Regions from separate parts of the Homo sapiens genome. Here regions 1, 2, 3, 5, 6 and 7 are each linked to region 4. Evidence: promoter capture Hi-C in 16 types of primary human blood cells and fetal thymus (Javierre and others, 2016). All regions are on one chromosome and are shown on one strand. The core of a region is centred on a gene start or on the middle of the fragment in contact, and the rest is flanking DNA. Distances in the headings are between cores, read along the strand shown. Region 1 has its middle 130 kb from the start of LINC02694. Region 2 overlaps LINC02694 (long intergenic non-protein coding RNA 2694). Region 3 has its middle 180 kb from the start of LINC02694. Region 4 holds the start of THBS1 (thrombospondin 1). Region 5 has its middle 31 kb from the start of LINC02694. Region 6 has its middle 170 kb from the start of LINC02694. Region 7 has its middle 110 kb from the start of LINC02694.

Evidence for each region. Contacts are between HindIII fragments. The CHiCAGO score rates a contact against its expected background, and 5 or more counts as called.
Region 1: a contact is called between a fragment that was not itself captured here and the fragment with the promoter of THBS1 in region 4, in 6 of 17 cell types (endothelial precursors, neutrophils, erythroblasts and 3 more). The highest score is 11.3, in endothelial precursors.
Region 2: a contact is called between a fragment that was not itself captured here and the fragment with the promoter of THBS1 in region 4, in 3 of 17 cell types (megakaryocytes, endothelial precursors and total CD8 T cells). The highest score is 9.2, in megakaryocytes.
Region 3: a fragment that was not itself captured here is called in contact with the fragment with the promoter of THBS1 in region 4 in 1 of 17 cell types (endothelial precursors); the score reaches 5.5 in endothelial precursors.
Region 5: a fragment that was not itself captured here is called in contact with the fragment with the promoter of THBS1 in region 4 in 2 of 17 cell types (erythroblasts and M1 macrophages); the score reaches 5.1 in erythroblasts.
Region 6: a fragment that was not itself captured here is called in contact with the fragment with the promoter of THBS1 in region 4 in 1 of 17 cell types (M1 macrophages); the score reaches 5.5 in M1 macrophages.
Region 7: a contact is called between a fragment that was not itself captured here and the fragment with the promoter of THBS1 in region 4, in 7 of 17 cell types (M2 macrophages, erythroblasts, naive CD8 T cells and 4 more). The highest score is 11.3, in M2 macrophages.

What each region holds. Positions count from the first base shown.
Region 1 is chr15:38,828,734-38,831,433 of GRCh38, reverse strand. No RefSeq gene overlaps it. Among named protein-coding and RNA genes, the nearest start is that of LINC02694, 130 kb to the right of the region's middle. The HindIII fragment of the contact is 921 bases long and covers 848-1,768 here.
Region 2 is chr15:38,698,251-38,700,950 of GRCh38, reverse strand. LINC02694 (long intergenic non-protein coding RNA 2694) reads right to left here. Exons shown (of 2, transcript NR_160786.1): 2 at 913-2,700. Among named protein-coding and RNA genes, the nearest start is that of LINC02694, 3.0 kb to the right of the region's middle. The HindIII fragment of the contact is 441 bases long and covers 1,199-1,639 here.
Region 3 is chr15:38,876,892-38,879,591 of GRCh38, reverse strand. It overlaps a transcript of LOC105370777 not described here. Among named protein-coding and RNA genes, the nearest start is that of LINC02694, 180 kb to the right of the region's middle. The HindIII fragment of the contact is 4,354 bases long and covers 1-2,700 here.
Region 4 is chr15:39,579,814-39,582,513 of GRCh38, reverse strand. THBS1 (thrombospondin 1) reads right to left here and starts at 1,435. Exons shown (of 22, transcript NM_003246.4): 1 at 1,286-1,435; 2 at 590-685; 3 at 1-321. The coding sequence starts at 656. It overlaps LOC124903470, which reads right to left. Exons shown (of 1, transcript XM_047433405.1): 1 at 1,520-2,700. The coding sequence starts at 2,196. The coding sequence ends at 1,762. RefSeq lists silencers at 1,895-1,944, 1,955-2,184 and an enhancer at 1,607-2,344. The HindIII fragment of the contact is 3,699 bases long and covers 1-2,700 here.
Region 5 is chr15:38,726,569-38,729,268 of GRCh38, reverse strand. No RefSeq gene overlaps it. Among named protein-coding and RNA genes, the nearest start is that of LINC02694, 31 kb to the right of the region's middle. The HindIII fragment of the contact is 2,308 bases long and covers 291-2,598 here.
Region 6 is chr15:38,860,353-38,863,052 of GRCh38, reverse strand. No RefSeq gene overlaps it. Among named protein-coding and RNA genes, the nearest start is that of LINC02694, 170 kb to the right of the region's middle. The HindIII fragment of the contact is 2,557 bases long and covers 137-2,693 here.
Region 7 is chr15:38,806,240-38,808,939 of GRCh38, reverse strand. No RefSeq gene overlaps it. Among named protein-coding and RNA genes, the nearest start is that of LINC02694, 110 kb to the right of the region's middle. The HindIII fragment of the contact is 4,397 bases long and covers 1-2,700 here.

The DNA.
Region 1 (2,700 bases), core at 59-2,558, 750 kb after region 4:
TGATGGTAGTTCTCATCAATTTACTCCGGTAAAGCTGTTGTTTAGACTTTAATACTAGCCACGTCTATTTCCTGACCACTTCAGTGCTAAAGCCATTAGGTGGGGCTGAGCAAGGTAGGTGTAGTGCCAGCTGGGCTGGGGTGGGTGATAGTTGTGGGGGCTCAGTGAAGGGTGTCAGAATCCCAGCAAAATGAGGCTCCCCCCTTTCTCCTCCACTTTCACCCCTTAGAAGGCACCTGGTCAAGGAAACTGGAATGTGATGAGCAGAGCAAGGGTCCTTCCACATAGAGGCACCTGGGGCAGGTTTCAGAGCCTGATTTTTTTAAATTTTGAAATGCACCTTTATTATTTCACAGTTAAATTCAAATTACTATTAGAATAAAATTCATTCATTCATTCGAATTATCACTTAGTAATATGCAATCTGGGAACCATTGTAGCTACTAGATGAAACTTTTTTTTTTTTTTTTTGAGACGGAGTCTCACTCTGTCACTCAGATTGGAGTGCACTGGTGCAATCTCAGCTCACTGCAACCTCTGCCTCCTGGGTTCAAACAATTCTTCTGCCTCAACCTCCCAAGTAGCTGGGACTACAGGTGCGTGCCACCACACCCAGCTAATTTTTGTATTCTTAGTAGAGACGGGGTTTCACCAATGTAAACACTACTCTTGACCTGACAGGCAGCTTTTCCTTATAATCTGGTGACACCACCCACAACCCCCAGATTGACGAGGGATTGTTTCTTATGGTGTAGAGATAGGAGTTTGAAATAGGGGTTCAAACCCCAGTTATGTCACTAGCTCTGTGACATACACAAGTTTCTTCTCTCTCTGTCTCTGGGAAGCTTCTCACTATGAAATTCTTATTTCACAGAGTTGGAATAAATGAAAGCACTTTATAATCTGCCATTATTTGAACCACTCAACCCAGACATATAGTCTGAAGTAAAAGATGGAAGCCACAGACAATAAGAGTTATATCTGTATGCAAAATGATGGCACTCTGTCAGCTAAAGACCCTGGAGAGAAGACTGAGTTCACACGTAAAGGTTCCTTTTATCTTTAACTGAAAGAGGTAGAATCCAGCACATTTGTGAAGGAGCATGTTTCCTGTTTAGAGTTGCCCTGCCCCAGAGCCACACTCTCCACCTTAGCCCTTTTTTCAGAGGGTAATGGTCAAGAATGAAGGTGCTTGTGCATTAATCCTGACACAACCATTTACTGTCTGGATGACTTAACATCTTTGGGCCTCAGTTTCCTTACCTGGAAAATGATGCTAATTATCCCTACCTCATAGAGTTGTGAGGATTAAAGAAGTTGATGTTTATCAAGTACTTAGAGCAGTCCCTTGCAAATACAAAGTGCTTAAAACACATTGGCCATTATCTTCTCACAGTCAATGTTTCTATAGGAACAAAAAATTGGCTTGTGACCTCAAGGTAATTTGCCATAACATGATACAGACTGCCCCAGCACTCACTGCCAGTGCCAGAGAAGAAGGATGGCCCCATTTGAACTTGGGAAGTGGCTATTCTGAAGAATTAGAATCTCTTGCCCAGAGCATGTGGCTGAGAGGCAGAATGTGAAGCACCTTATTTATTTCATCTGGGCTTTCTCATGTTTACAGGGAGCTGGCATTTCTCTGTCATTCAAAAGAAGGAAAAAAAAAAAAGTCAACGATTGGTCATTCTATTATCAAAGAAGATAACATTTTATCAACTTTTCTTAGATATCTCACATATTCTTCCTTCCAAAAGCACTTGAAGCTTAATTTAGTCAATGACTGGTCAAAGGGAGAAAAGTGACCATTACAATTTGTCATTCACCCAATAATTGTAATCAAAGTAATAACAGCAATAATAGTAATAGTTAACATTTATTATATACATATTGTGGACAACGTTTTATCGTAAGTACTTTACAGAGAATATCTCATCGTAAATCTTCCAAAAACCCTAGGGGATATTATCCCCATTTTACAGAAGGGAAAATAATCCCCAAGTTTCCTAATAACAGGATATCAGGGAGATTTCAATAGAAGAGTCAAGCCAACAAAAACAAATTCAGCAGACAATGGAAATTCTGTTGGGAAATAACACCCCCAGTGGCTCTATCACTCAGCACCAAGAACACCTCCAATGACTGTATGAGTTTCTAGCAACATGGTAACTTTCAGTTCTCGGAAATGTCCAAACAGAGAGCAAGTCATGTGAAAAGATACTTAAGATTGAGCCACTTTCCATTCCTTGAAAATTTAGATCTATGCTTAAAGTTTGCTTCTAGCCTGTCTATATTAGTAGGAGTTGTATTCATCAAGTTGTTTAGAAGTAGTGTTTGTTTAATCAGGGCTTTTTGATGTACAAAGCACTTTTAATTCATTATCTCATCTGATTATTTTCAATGATGGTGACAAATAGAAGTCTTTGTTGCCATTTTATACATAAAATTGAGGCTTAAAATGTCCTCAAGCCCCAGAACTGGATACCAAAACCCTGTCTTCTGCCTCATGTCCCATCTTATGCTTTCATCTTTCAATAAGATGGAGAAGCGAGATTCGTGCACAGGGTAAAATTTTGTTTCAGCACCACACACTAGATACCCAACTAGATCAAAGGATTAATAAGAGCATGTCACCAGCTGGGGATAGATGTATCAAACAGAGATCGTGGGTTAACTGGTATTCAGATTGGGCCAAACACC
Region 2 (2,700 bases), core at 170-2,669, 880 kb after region 4:
TTAGACTTAATGATATTTTTTCAGCCACACTACTCACCTGCTATGGTTCAAATGTCCTCACCAAAACTGTTGTTGAAATTTAATTGCCGTTGTTACAGTTTTGGGAGATGGGGCCTGTAAGAGGTGATGAGGTCCTGAGGGCTCTGCCTTTGTGAATAGACTCATGCTGTCATCACAGAAGTGAGTGAGCGATCTTGGGAGTCTGGCCCCCTTTTCCTCCCTCCCTCCCTCTCTGTCTCTGTCTCTCTTTCTCACACTCCCTCTCTTGCCCTTCTGCCTCCCTGCCATGGAATGACCCTTCCTGGAGGACAGCACCATGCTCTTGGACTTCCCAGCCTCCAAAACCATACACTAAATAAATTTCTCTTCATTATAAATTACCCACTCTGTAGTATTCTGTTACAGCAACAGGAAACCTACTAAGACAACCTCTTCCAGACACCTGAACTCATTCTTCTCTTCCATTCCCCTAGGCCTTGCACATGCTCTTCCTTAGTCAGGTAGAATTCCCTCCCTGCCCTCTCTCCCTCCTGCCTGACTAAATCTAGTCTTCCTTGACAAGTCTATTCAAATGTCACTGCTCTGCAGAGTTACCAATTCCTCTTTGTTTTCTCCCACTGCATTTCTTCACCTGATTTTAAGTTGCCATGTTGTATTAGAATGAGCTGCTCGGGTATCCACTAAACACTTGGTTGCCTACCAGAACCAGCCCAGCACTAAGTAGATTTGTGTTGGATAAATGAAAATGACCATTCCGCTTTTTGCTGGGCTGTTTGGTTTAGGTGTTTTTGTTGGGCTGTTTGTTAGTTGATTTGTTTTGTCTTTGTAGGACTTCATTTGAATTGAAATTTAGTCAAAGAAAGAAAAATTGTGTTCCAGTTTGGCAAAGGAGTACATGTCTATCTGATTTTTGCTTCATTATTTATTTTGATTTGAAAATATGTCTTTATATTAAACCTCTTTACAATATGGATTTGAAGCAGATAAATTGTTTGGTCTGATTCACATCACAGCTTCTGAGTTAGCTTAGAAGAAAACCATCAACTGATGTTTCCGGTAACCAGCAGCAAGAGAGCTCATGAAAAGGCAGGCACACCTCCAGTGACCACTAGGTGGCAGTTTCACTCTCAATATGACCAGATTGACAATGTCCATCCAAGAAGTCTGGGGCAGGTAAGTTGGAGCACAAGACCAAGCTTAACTAGGCCTGTGGGTGGAAAAATGAAGACCCAAACTCAGCCCTGAAGAAAATGGAGTTATGGAAAAAACAGCACATGGAAAATGTAAAGGAATGCCACTAGACATTATTTCACTGAAAGGTTAGCTAAGTTAACCACAGCCACAAAATCAGTAGAGAAAAGACGTGCCGGACCCGAGACAGGCCAGACAGTGTTGAAAGGCAAAGGAGTCTCCAGTCCACCCTCCATGGCTGGAGCCCAGACCCCTGGGGAAAGGCAGGATGGTTGCAGGCTGGTCATTGCTGAGCCCCTGGTAATGTGCCGAGTGACCAACTTCAGGTGTCTCTCCGCCAAGACTGCTTGGTTCTCCTCTTCTGAGTGACCCCAGAAGGAACCCCTGAGAGACACTGCTTAGTCTTTCTAGTTCCCATTCCAAAGTTGGATAAGGGACTTTTCAAGCTTAAAGTGGGAACGAGGGGCAGGGCTTATCTCCACAGGAAGCCAAGGTGGCTCCTATCATAGCAAATCAAGATACTTCATGGGTACACCCACAACAGGCCAGCCAGGGCCCCTGAGGAAATTATGTGGACTATTAACCTTAAGGAGGCTGCAGGCCAAAAGCATCAACCGACTTCTATCAGGAGTGTATTTTTTTTTTTATGATGCAGAATAGGGAATAGGGAAACTATCCTGGAATAGGGAAACTGAGGCCCAGAGCAAGCCAGGGATGAAACAATTCCATCCCCCGTGACTGAGAAGAGAGCCTTCAGGTAGGCTTGAGGAAACAAAAGCCCTGAGGAAGCTGTCTTGGCAATGTCCAGGTTATTACACTATAACATCCACTCATACGTTTGTGGTAGGGCTTCAACTTTTACACACGAATAACCTGAGTGATCGAATTACCTGTTCTCTTCTCTTTCTCTGCTACCAACCCCAGAAAGACTGCAAAGAATAGACACTTGAGTCTAAACCAAACTGCTAGGCTCAAAGAACACTGCACCAGCTATGAGGTAATAACCACCATGGGTTACAGGATCTGTGAACGGGATAAGCTCCTTTACTTCCCCCCGGCTGGAGTGTGAGTTATAAAACAGACTAACAAGGAGAGGGAGAGACAAGTTTTCAGGAAGAGCTGGTAAGAAGGCACCTGCAGCTTCTCCCCAACATCTTACACACCACACCGACATCAACCTCCTAGTTTGACATCCCTGTAACTAGGCCTTGACATCAAGGCCTAGTTTGGGTGGGGAAAGTAACCCCCAGAGGATCTGAGAGGAGAGATTGGCATGCTCTCCTCCTGGTGGACTTTCCCAAGTAGCAGCCCCCACAGACACATCTGTCACTGGGTCGCAGGAAGACAGGAAGTGGTGAACGGCGGGGCACAGTTAGGTAGGAGGGGCTGGAAGCCACTTCTGGGCTTCTCTTGGAGTCAAACTTTGTAATGCAGGAGATCCATGCATTTCCTTGGACCCAGCATTGTCTGAAGACATGAGCTGGAGCTTGTATCAACTTGCCAGCCCCA
Region 3 (2,700 bases), core at 146-2,645, 700 kb after region 4:
CTGTGGTGGAGATATGGACATATCTCAAAATTAGCAGGAAATTTAAATAGCGATTTTAAGAGAAAGTAAGATCTGGTTATGAGAAAGGATGAAGCTACTCTGGGTGAGAGAAAACTGAGAACTATGCCCTAGGAATATCCAACATTTAAAGTGTAAACAAAGAAAGTAAAGACAGAGATGACAACTGAGAAAGAGTGGTAGTCACAGGAGACTCAAGTGAGTGTAGCTGGAAGATGTCATCAGAACCCTAGTTAATAACATGTGGTCTACCATTGCTACAATACAATGCCCTCCAGCCATCTCAGGCAGGTGGGCCTTTACTTTCCTCAAATTACATTCACAGATGAACAACCCATGCTCTATGAAGGAGTCGGGCCTGCATACTATCCTTCCCAATGAGGGAGATGTGACAGTTCAGGATTCAGGAAAGGACCAAATGGACTCACCAGGCAAGTGTGCTTTAGGATGGAGGGCAGGGTTGGCTCTGTGCCAGGAGTGTAGATTTCATCTGTTGGCTGCAAATGTGTGCCAGTTCCCAATGGAATGCTACTGTTCTCTGACCTGCCCTCAACTCATAACACAAGTCACAATTCACTGGAGTTTCACAGTACGTTTCTGTGGATGTTTGGAATCAGAAATGCAGACTCACAGAATAGCTGTATAGGATTTAAAGAGAATCGGCAGAGTTCAGGCTGCTCATTTTACAGAGGAGGAGGCTGAGTCTGAAGACTTACTAATTTGGCCAGGGTTGCATGGCAGTTTAGCAGAGTAGTTAAACAAATGGGCTTGAAACTCAAAGAGTCCCTGAGAATCTTAAATTGTGTGCCTTAGGCAAGTCTGCTAAAACTGCTATGTCTCAGTTAACTCCTCTTAAAACTGAGTAAGAATAACATATATATATATATATCATATATTATGATACATGATATATACATAATTCATGTATTATATCATGATACATGATATATATGTATTATTCATGTATATGATACATGATACATATATCATGTAACCTATGATATATATCATATATGAAGATTATATATATATCTCAGAGGTTATTTGTAAGAGATGAGATAGTGAATTCAAAGCACTTAGCATGACAGCTAGCATATGGTGACACAGCTATCATGCAAAGCCAAGTCTTCTGACTCGTACTTTAGTGCTCTTTCCTCTGAACCATGATCCCTCCTTTAAATAGAGAAGTTAAAAATGAACTTACAGAGACATTCTATGTGTACCAACCCAACACTATAGCACTTGATTTATGCATTCATTTTTATAACAACTATCATTTGAGCATCTATGTACCAGGGTGCTGATGTAACCATGCTGAGTGCTGAGGTACTCATGCTGAATCAGATGTGATCTCTTCCCACTAAGGAGAGAGAAGATTGTGCCTATGGTAGCCAGGAATGAGGTGCACTTGCAAGGAGTAGGGAGGAGTGGGGAGAGTCTAGAGGCAAGGAGATGAGATAGAAAGTTCTTGCCCTAATTTAGGCAAGAGGCAGCAGGGTCCTGAATTACCTTGGAGAAAATGGAAATTAGGGGAAAGGACAAAGAAATGAGGTAGGAACATGAGACTTACCCTTGACACATGATTATTATGTTTATGAAATATTTGTTTTTGTGTTTCTGACAAGCAATTTGCCTCCAGAATTGCCAAATGAGTCTGGTTGTTACTCCAGACTCAAGGTAACATCTGCTTATTGCTAGTGCATAGACCAGGGCAGGTGATGGGCTTTAGGCCTCTTATCTAGCGTCTTACACAAAATTGCAAGTAGACCCAGAATTACTAGTGCCAGGGCTGCAGAAATAGGAACTGTTTAGCCAGGTCTATGACCATCTGTTTTCCCTCCTGCCAAATGCATCGAGGGCATGATAGATCTGGCTTAGATGGTAACAAAGTGAGAGCAGAGTTGAGCAAATAGACAAATGTTTATCTTTTGCAGGAATGTGCACTTGGCTCTGGGGATTGTAGCTGTCCATCAGCATCCACACTGGATGAAACTGCTGAAGGAAGGGGCTCCGAAAACACCCACTTTCCTCAGCCTCTGCGGCCTTAACTCCATGTGCCAGCAGGTCAGGCTAACAGGCTGTGGTGCTAAAGGCATCAGGCAGACATATCTACTGGCCCATTAAGATTCTGTACCTAAACACTACCCACCCCGCCCACCCTGCCCCAGTGATGGCCCTGCCTTTCCTGCCAGGCCTGCTCTCCTCCCCAAGAAAGGGAAAATGGTTAGCAACTTTCAGAAACTAAAACAAACACAAAAGTTTGCCAACATTAAACTCTGCTTCACAGCTAAATGGACCATAAACTTTCAGCACCTTGAACAAAACTTCAATTCAATCCCTTCTACAGGTGCTGTGGGCACAAAGACTGCACAGTGTATTTTTGCCCTGGGAAAGAGTCTCAAATTATTATTTTTGTAAAAAAAAAAAAAAAAAGAAAAGAAAAAGTTGCCTGGAAAAAAGTTTCATTTTGTGCTTAGAAAAACAAGCCAAGAGGCAACGCACACCCCCTTTCTCTCCATTCTCACTTCCCTGCACTCTCACGAGAAGATTCCAGCCCACCTTGAAACCCAGCATGGATACTAGAGAAGACATCTTTTTCTCCAGTTTTCAAATAAGCCTCCAGGATGAGGCACACGCAGACCTTTCCTGCTAGCCTGTAATTCACCACCTTCTAAAAGGACC
Region 4 (2,700 bases), core at 186-2,685:
GGTCCAGGGTGCCCGCCTTGCCATTGGACACCACGCTGAAGACCTGGCCAGAGTGGTCTTTCCGCTCCAGGGCCAGCAGCGTGCCCCGGGTCTTCTTCATCTGCCTCAGGGATGCCAGAAGGAGGAAACCCTTTTCTGCCCGCACAGCATCCACCAGGTCTTGGAACTTGTCATCAGGCACAGGGGGGATCAGGTTGGCATCCTCGATGCGGAAAGCTGGGCTGGAAGGGTCGGGGCCCTTCACCAGTCGGCGCCCAGACCCCTTGCGGGCGGCCCCGGTGAGTTCAAAGATGTCAAACACGCTGTTGTCTCCGCCAGACTCTGTTAGACAGGAGAGAACACAAAGTGAGCTTTCTAGGCTGGGACCAGCAGTAGGGGGCTGAGTCCTTAGGGGTGGAGACAAAGGGTTGGGGTGAAAACTCCTGGCAACCACTGAAAGAGGTGAATAAATACCAGGATCAGAGTGAAGCTGCGTCCTGATGTCCAGTCAGGCTCAAGAGGGAGAGGACAGCACGTGAGGGGGCACACCTGGGATAGCCAGCACCTCTTCCTTGTCCCTCCTTCCCCTAAAGGTGCCACACAAACTCACCTGGAATGCGGTTGGTGCCACACACATGCATCAGGAACAGGACGCCTAGTCCCCAGGCCAGCCCCATGGTGGAGCTGTTGGTGCCCAGCAGGGATCCTGTAGCAGGAAGCACAAGAGCCGAGGGTCAGAGATCAGCTAGGCAGGGAGGGACGGTGCGCAGAAACGGGGCTGGGCATGGGGACAGGGCCGGGACCATCCCTCTTTGACCCCGCGTTTGCTGAAATGAAGGACAACAGGATTACTTTCCAGAGAGCATGAGAGAGAGAGAGAGAGAGAGAGAGAGAGGTGGAGGAAAGAGATGCTGGTTTTAAAGTGTGGGGGGCGCAAGACCAACAATTTGGGGGCTTTTGGGAAGTCGAAGGTGAGCAAGATCAGGAACTGTAGTTTGGGGTTGCAGGGAGGGCAGGGGAAGTACAGACTCTTCCCTGGAGTGCTGATACAAAGGCTTAAGGAGGACTTCAGAGAGTAAGGAAATCTTGGGGTGTCCTGATGAGTTGGTTTGTGAACCTCAAGGCTGGAGAGGATGGCTCTGGAGCCTTGCCCTGAAGAGTCCTCCAGCGGCTGAGAGGAGCGGGCTGGGGTAGGCGAGCGGGGAGAGTGTAGGTTCCGGGGTCCACCAGAGGGACTGAAGCCTCAGCGCTCCAGGTGGATGTCCCGGGCAGCTTTGGTCCTCGGCGGCCGCCGGGGGCGACTTACCTGTGTGTACCGGAGCGCGGCGGCCGGGAGCGGTGGCGAGGGCGGCGAGGGCTGGAGGGGCGCGGGGAATGCCTGTGCGTCCGGAGTAGAGGTTGCTCCTGGAGAGCGACAGGAGCCCTGAACTCGCAGGCCAGCTCGGGCGCAGCGGCTGGCAAGGCGGAGGAGCCGCGCGCTTTTAAAGGGGCGCTCGCATTCCTGGGGATTCCTCCGGCCAATGGGCGGCGGCCGGGCAGGAAGCGGGAGGTGGGGGCCAGTCTGGGCTCCTCTCTCCGCCCCCCGCTGCCTGGCGCGCAACTTTCCAGCTAGAAAGTGAAGGGGGCGGGGGTCGGGGCTTGGGAGCACTAGAACTTCTCAGAAAAGTCGGTGCCCGCCCACGCAGCCTTGGCGCGCACGGGCTCGGCGCTCGTACTCTTGCGCCACGCGGGCTCGGGGTGATCAGCAAGCATCCCGAAAAGGGACGGGGCTGGGGAGACCACCTAGGAGGGCCCGCGGGGTGGCGCAGGGGCTTTCGGGCGAGCTGATCTCCCGGAATGCCTGGTTGATGGCGAGAGGTGGATACTAGAGACTGGGCCCGTTTTGTAAAAAGAAAAATGGGCCGACGGGGCGCAGGGGACACCAAGAGAGCCATTCGTTAAAGTACCTGCCCCTCGGGCCCTCGCTGACTCTCCTCCACCGTCCCCGTGGGGTGAGGACACGCGTCCCCCGAGCGCCTGTCCTGAGCTGGCCCCACGCCCGCCCCGGAGGGAGGTGAGCGCGGCGTCGGCGGGGCCGGCAGGTTGGTGCGCCGCGTTCGCCTTCGCTGCCTTCGGGCCCTTTCCTGCCGCGGCTGCCAGGGGGCCCACAGAGACGCCTCTCCCGCTGCCGCGGCGCTCCCTCGGCCGGCCGCTTGGGGGCGGTGTGCGTATTCTCATCAAGGGGCCCGGGGAGGACAGCTGCTTTCTACTCGAATTTTAAGGAAACTTACTCGTATCCAGTTTCCACAAGCCAAATTGAAATTGTGTCTTGAAAAACAGTTTTTGTGCCCACTCGTGCTTCTTAACGTGACTCCTGTTTGGAGAATTTGCAGAACCATCTGGCTCCAGAGTCTTCAGCTATTTACAGAGCAGACCCATAGAGTAATAAATTACTCTCTGCCTATTATTGTATTTCCCTTTTTCCTCCCTAAACGTTCTTTTCATTTTTCGGCTCCTGAACCCGAGGTGTGGGTTACATTTCTGTGGGTGCACACATTGCCATGAGTGCCGCTGCCTAGTGCTTCTGTCATTGAAGTCTGGTCTCCAAGCCACTGTCCCAAGCCAGCATGACTCTAGCTTCCTGGAATTCCATTCATCTCTTCGGGATGGGACGTCAGCCGCCTCGCTCCCTCTGCTGTGATCCAGCGCTATCGGGCTCGCTCCGAGGCCAGGGCATAGGTA
Region 5 (2,700 bases), core at 195-2,694, 850 kb after region 4:
GGGACAGACAAATATATGATATGGCAGGCAGCATAAGATATTTGTAGAAAAGAGGTAGCAGGGTAAGTGGGGGAGGGAATGATTGAGGTATGGGTTGGAAAGCGGGTAACGCAATTTTTTATGGCCAGGAAGACCCCTTTAATAAGGTGATTTTTGAGTTCCTGAAGGAAATGATAACTTCTAATGCCCTGGTAGCCCTACATTTTGGGCTTAAAGAAAGAAAAATAGGCAGATACAAATTAGACTATGTATATGAGAGATAAAAGAGGAAGAGCGGGATATGGGAAGCTTGATTAGATGTGCATCTCCAGGTGTTTTCCCTCCTTAAATGCGTTTCCTTATACATATATGACTAAAAGGACTTTATAGGGATGGTGGGGAGGAAAGACAGAGATACACAGTATCTGTGCCTCTGCAACTTAAATTAGTTCATCAGTAAATTGACTCTAACCTAAGTTCCTTTATCCTTTGATCTGACTTAAAGTAAAAAGACCTCAAAACTGGCTATGAAAATTTGCAGAATTCCAGACTTACAGGCGAAGAAAATTACATGAAAGCAACCTCCTCCACTCCCACCCTGGCTCTGGCCCAGTTCTAAGACCCACCTTGTGCAAGGCTGGCCCCATCTCCTCACCAGTCAATCCCTCAGAAACTTAGCCTCAGCCAACTGTGGCTTCAGCCACTCCATGTTTGTTTTTTCTAAGAGAGGTGTTGGGGAAAGGCAAATCACCCACTTCCAAAGCCAGAATACAGTGCTGTAGGCCACCCTCTTCTAATAACCATTTGATGACGTTCACCTAATGGCAAGAGTTTTTGCAAAGCCTTCTCTACTTATGTTTCTTCCTAGAAATAAAACAAGTGTGTAAATGCTATTGCTGTGCTCTTACAAAGCTACGATTTGTCGCCTTCCTTCTCAATTGTTGTCAATTCAATCTGTCAAGAACCTGTGCCTAAAAGGTTTGCTACCTGGTCAAGGAAATAACCCAATAGGAATAAAACCATTTTAGGGGAGTGAGTGTAAGGCCGTAGGATCCCAGTGCGAAGGCCATCCACGTGGGCTGAAATAACCAGTGGGTGCTTCATAATGGGGATAATATGGGATTTGGAGCATGAAAGGTGAAATGTGGCTGAGAGTATTTTCATCAGAAAAAAATTACATATACAGGTAGGGAAGTATTTGTGGTTTGTGCGGGGGTAAGGAGACTGACCTCCCTGGATGCCCGAGTTTTGCTTTGAAGGAAACCCAGGTAGTATGTCTGGAAACCCCACCCAAGGATCTGTATGCCTCACAGAGACCTTTCCTTGTGGAGAAAATAACTCATGTGGCCCTCTGCTCATCACTGCCAACATCATAAAGCAATCAAAGACAGAAACTAGGAGAAAACAGCTCATTTCCTTATCCTTTGCAGAAAGCACGAGTTTTCCAAGGGCAATTTTGTAAATTAAGAATTTTCCTGTGTTAAGGGGTAGGCAAGTTTCTTTAATAAACAAAAGGCCTCCAAGTTGAAGGAAATAATCACATAGTCATGCACTTAAAGAGGTCATATCCAATTCCACAGTGTTCCGTGGCATCCTTCATGGATCAGAATGGAAAAGCAGACTTCTTCTAACGGCCACAGCCGCATGTTACCTGTCTCCAATGAAAACGGCCCTAAACTGCCAAGAACTTAAGCCAAGACAGACCATAAATGGTACATTTCTCTTTCAAGGTGATGCAGTATGTACAAAGCTGTTCTGTCTGAGATTTGTGAAGCTGCTTGTGCACGAGGTGGATTGTGAATTTGACTGGCAGCCAATTGTAAGCCAGCAGTGCTGAAAACCCATTCTGTATGTCCATGCCAACATGTATGCATGGCATCATTGTGGACAAAGCTGGTAATCAAGAGCACGCTGTGTGAGGACAACTGCATATGGGATACCCAGCTCCAATACCACCTCCGTCCAAGACTTTTCCAAAGAAAGTTCTCAACATACATTATCACGAGCATGAGAGAGTGCTCTATTTGTGCAGCCTGAAGTTTTCTCTTCCCCATAGGTACAGGGAAGTCTTCTATGGTTAAATATAGTGAATTCCAAGGTTCTCGAAGCCTTAGATTCATTTTTCCTTCATGCAGTAAGAAAGAAGAGCAAACAAAAGGGACAAATCTCCAGGGGCTCTTCCGATCTAGCCCCACCCTACAAAAGAAGGGACAGTATATGCCTGTCACTGTTCCTGTGTCTCAAAAATAAAAAAATTCCCTTTTATCTCCTTCTAAACCTCTATCTCACTACTTCCCAAAGCACATCCTCCTCGGCAAACTAGTCAAATCACACTTCCCAAGATGTGCTAGAGCATTCTGGCCTCTGCACCTTTATGCCTAGCATTCTTTCTGCCCTGGAGTTTCCTTTCCTATTCTCTTTGGTAATCTAAATCAAATTTATCTCAAATGGCTCTTCCATAGAAACTTCCCCAATCACTGCAGTGTAATTGAAAGGTTCCTGTCCCTTAGCTGCCATAGCTTCATTGAGCAGCATTAAGTAGTACCTTTCAGCACCGTGTGTGACATGCCACCTTCTGCGGTCATGAATCTGAGTCAACTCCCTAACTAACCCAAAGCTTATAGAGAGCATGGATCATTTCTAGTTCATTTTTTAAACCCTAAAATCCAAATGTGTGTTTAATCTTTAGATACATACCTATTGGGTCTCCCAGTCAATGTA
Region 6 (2,700 bases), core at 166-2,665, 720 kb after region 4:
TCAATCTTCCCTTTTCATGATGAACCACAGTCCCTGGCTGGGACTCAAGTTGCATCTTTCAGCCCTCTACCACCATCACCAGCTGCACTACAGTGTCCAGTATTTTCCTGTGTGCCCGTGGTCCCCATTCCAAGCTTCCTCCCATGTGCAGGGACACAGGTTACCCATTGCTGGACTGCTCCACATTTAATTACCTAGACAGAGAGCTTGCACATAGAAAGTGTTCTATAAATGTTATTTATTCCATCTAAACTTCCCACTAGCAAAGTAACCACAAAGACAGGAACTTGCCTTAGTTGTTCAGATGTGGCCCTATCATGAGATCTATGGTTAGCCCATAGTAGCCAATGAAAAAGAATGGCTTTTGAGTGAATGAATCACTGAAGATTCATTCTAGCCTTTATTTCAAGAAGATGTGGGAATGTAATCCTTTGCTGTTCAGCAAAAATGCTAAACTAGAACCAGGAACTACAGACTTGGAGTGCCTCTTTTTATTTAAGAGACTCTTGGGAGACACCACCTTATGTACCCCCACAAGCTAGATGTTCTTCCTATTCCAAATAAACTACAAGGATGAATACTGTACCATCTTACTCAAAGCCAAAACAGCCCTGGAAATATGTTTTCCAGTCTAGTTAATCAGAAAAAGGAAGGGTGTACATAGTCATGTGGAGTGTTTCAAGCAGATAATTACTCTTCTATGCATTTTCTCAATGCCAACGTGTACCAAAATGACAGTTATTTCCTTTGCCCAGAAACTCCAGTTCTGAAATATTTCACATAACAGAGCATTCCTCCCCATCTCATCTCTCCCTACCAACTGTCTGAAGTTCTTTGACAATGAGATCTTAGCTGGAGCCTTGCAATGGAAGAGTGCTTGTTCACTGATATATCAATTTGGTTACTTTGAAGACATTTAAATAGAAATTTTGATGTACCAGATATTTCTCTACAGAATTAAGAGAAAGTTGAGAAAAGTTTCAATATGATAGGGAATAATGGAGTAGACTGGTTTTTATAGATAAGCCTAATCCTTCTTCATCCATATGTAATTCCCAGTTCATTACCTTCCCAGGCTCATCAACCTGCGTTCTACCAGTAAATGCATGCACTGAGGAGCTTAACTATCTGTCTGCCTTGGGTATGAATTGGCCACAGATACACGGGAATACGTATGATGTAAAGACAATGCTGAATTACCATGATATTCATATAGCAGACATGTTCACAGGTATTAGTAAGAAGGTAATAAAAAATAGAAGATAGTTTATTATGTTCCAAGAAGGGTGCTAGATAATTTATATATAATAGTCTTATCTCACTTACATTTTAATCATATAAAGGTGGCATTCCTATTTTAGAAATTAGAAATTGAAAAGGGCTCAGAAAAAAAAGTTCCCTGTTTAATATCCCACAGGATTTGAGCTTTAGGATCTTTGCTTTGAAGAAAGGAAATTTGTGATACTAGTAGATTAATTTCTACTTCCACTGTACCCATAAAGGCATGATAGCAAGAGTGAATTGTGCTTTAATTTTTTGTCTTTATGTCTACTCCATAACCAGGTTTATCCCCTTTCCTGCTTTATTTTTCTTCATAGCACTGAGTCAGTTGGGGTTAAACCAGAGAACCAGAACCAATAAAGGATGACATGAAGTTTGCTGCAAGAGATTGGCTTAGGCAATTGTGGCAGCTGCATAAATAAGTCCAAAATCCATAGGTCAGGCCAACCATAAGGGCAGGCTGGAACTCCTGGGCATGGGCTGAATCTGTTGTCTTACACATGAATTTCTCCTCTAAGAGGAGCCTCAGTCCTGCTTTTAAGGCCTTTCAAGCTGACTGAATCAGACTCACTCAGATTCTCCAGGATAATCTCTCTTAAAATCAAGTGATCATGGACTTAAATTACATCTATAAAATACCTTCACAGCAACATCTAGATTTGTGTTGGATTGGATAATTAAAGGCTATAGTCTGTTCAAATTGACACATCAGAAAGACCACCATAACCTGATATATCTTACTCATTTATATTTATTGTTTATCATTTCTCTTCCCACACTAGAATGTAAGCTCTATGAGAAAATCAACTTTTTGGGTTTTGTTTACTGCTGTATTCCTCAGCAGCTAGAACACCATCTGGCATGTGGTAAGCAGCTGATAACTGTGAAATGAATAAAGAATTGAATAAATGAACAGCTTTCTTGCCAGGAAGGGCCTCCCCTCTCCATATTGGGTCAAACACCCAGCACAATTCCCAGAACAGAACAGGTAGTCAGAATTGTTTTCAATTAATTAAAACCAGCTGGTGACCCACATGCTTTCTATAGAATTCCACATCTCAGGAATGGCTGGTGTGGTGGAGACAATGGGCATAGAGGGCCAGTTTTACTCACCTGATATTACCAAGGTGAAGAGGAAAGGCTGTGGGCACCATCAACACCCCTGCTGGGGATTGTGGGAACTTGGGATAGGAAGAGATGCAAACACCATTGGCAGTTGTTTGGAGTGATTTCAGGAACAGTTCAATATAGCATTGGCTGAAAGGAAGTGGGAAAGATCACAGAGTGTGTGCCGCTTCTGCTTCTGTTTCTGGGTGACTGCATAACAGGAAAGTAACTGTCTTGCACAATCAACCCAGATGATCCAGAAACAACGGGAAAAATGTTCATGAGCCCCTGAGGTGAAGCAAGCTTCATTTT
Region 7 (2,700 bases), core at 157-2,656, 770 kb after region 4:
TATGTCATTTACTATACAAGTTAAAGAGCACTGAAAATTTCTAAATTGGATGTTTTAAATATGGGTAAAAAGAGAACGAGCTGATCCATAGATTCCAGAAGACAAAGGGGAAATTCACCCGCTAATGGATCAATTCTATATATTTTTATTTCCATCATCACCTCTATGTAGGGTTCACCTGCACATGAGAATCCTAGAGAATTAGTGTTGAAAGGTGCATTGGTCTAATCTCCTCCTTTTATTGAAAAGCTGAAGCCTAGAAAGGTTAAGTGACAAGCCAGCTCCAACGGAATGGTACTGGCTGCTTTGTACATAAGACCATTTTTTGAAGCTGAATCTTGACTAGGAAGAACTTATTCCTTTCTTTCTGTCCTTTCCATCAGCTACTGGCTGCTTCATCCATAAGGAGTCCAATATTTGAAGCTGAATTTCGACCAGGAGAAACTTACTTCTTTCTTTCTGTCATTTTCATCAGCATAGCCACCATCAGCCTTTCATTATGTGCCTGTTTACTTTGTGTTTTACTAAATGCCCTTTATAGACCTTGCAGAAGCTATTTTGGTAGCTTCCTGCGCATAGAAAATGTTTTGTTTAGGCTCTACCTTATGTTCAGAGTGTCTGGGGCCTGTTGAAGTTGATTGAATTAAACAAAAACAGGGGGTCAGATAACAGAAAAGGACAGTTACAGACATGGCTTTAACTCATTCCCCACCACTCCCCTGCATGCCTCTGTCTTTCCTGCCCCACTCCTCTACAGTTAGAACTCCAAAACATCCATTGAAATAGTTCTGGCAGCAGAATTAGAGGAAGTCTATGTACCTTGGAAATGAAGCTCACACTCTAGAGAATGTGATCTCAGATATCAGAGTTTCATCCATTATTGCAGTCTTAAATCAAAGGGCCCTTGGGAAACATCTCTGCCTACCACAAATTATAATATAGCTACAAAAATCTTTTCTGTAATAAGTAATTTTCCATGAAAACAACACTTCTCAGTCTTTCAGGACATAGTTGAAACATGACTTAGATTGAAGTTGTTTTTTATATACATTTTTTAAATGGAAAGAAGACTTCAAAATTCCCTAAGCATCATGCATTTTTAATCTTGCACAGCTTGACTCCTCCATAGAAAACTCATCTTAGGAAAGGGGGCTTATTGCAACAGGCACTTTTTAAACTTTATCCTCAAGAAGGCTAAAGTTGATTTGTGAATTGTTCTCATCTTAGAAGAGTCTTTCGACAGAGAAAAGAAGCCAACCATTACCCATTTTGCCTGGAACCAAGAAAAGCTGCGCTTGAATCCAAACTGAACTGAAGAATTAAGATCAAATATTAGGAAATCTACTTTTGCACCAAGTATACACTGAAATGGATCTCCCATGGTGGAGGACATTAAAAAATATCTTCCTATACTACGTACAATTTAGAGATCTTTAATTTCAACTAGTCCAGATAGAGCACTGCCTAAAGGCAAAGGTATGTGTTAGATATATCCAAAAGTCACTACTAGTCTGCCCTGATCTGAGATAAAAATAGAGATCAAGACCCCCAAGGTAGAAAAAAAGACCTCATTTAAGTAGGATAAAAAAGACCAGTCTTTATCCAGCCAACGAGAAACAAGCTGGGAGAGGCCTGAGTGTGTCTAGACTCTGATGAAAAGGGGTCAGTAGAAGAAGACATGTTATAAATACAAGAAAGAGAGGACACAATTCATAGGACAATGACTGAGGAAGGTGACAATGACTGGAGACAGATGGGGGCATTCACCTTGGAGAGAAAGAGGAAGAACTTACCCAATGTAATAGAAAAAAAGGAGCTTGTAGTTTCCAGCAACAAGAAAATAGGCTTGTAGATTAAGGTCTGGTTTGTAGATTTAGTCACAGAAATTTCGTGGAGTTCACTTCTGATTGTTTCTCTTTCTGAAGTAGGTCATCTGTTGACCTTGGTCAGTAGAACCAGTCAGAGATTGAAGGCAAGTGGGACAGAGTGAAATGGTTGTAAAGAATAGAGGAGCAAGCTGACTGACGAAATACAACAGACCTGCCAATGGTTTTAAATCATGAGTTGACTATTAATTCATAATAATGCTAAAAAGAGCAAATTGATTTCCTCAAGCAGGGAACAGTTCTCTGGTATAAGATGGAAGATTCTATTTAGAATCCACTCAGAGTTAATTGACATTTTCATGACCGCACACATTTATCCATTTCTTCTCACCTATTCGAGAGCAGCATTTCTGTTTCATCGTCGATTATTTCCTCACTACTGGATCTTTCCCATCTGCAGACAATTATGCTTGCATTTATTGCTTTCAATTTTTTTTTTAAAAAAACTCTTTTTATTCTACTACTTTCTAGCTACTGCTCTTTTTCTTTACTTTCCTCTAAAGGCAAACATCCTCAAAAGAATTGTGTATATTCACACTCTATCGCTACCACTTTTCTTGTTCCATCATTTTTTTAATCAACTCCAGTCACCCCCACGACTCCATCTAAAGTGCTCTTATTAATTTCACTAATGACCCACTCATTGCTAAAAATAGCAGTCAGTTCTTAAATCTCATCTTTCTTACTCTCTCAGCAACACTTAACATAGTTGGTCACATGTCCATGTGCTCCTTGAAGCATTTTCTTTACTGGTTTTCCAGGGCCTCACACCATTCTCTTGGTTGTATTCCTGCCCCACTGGCCAATACTTCTC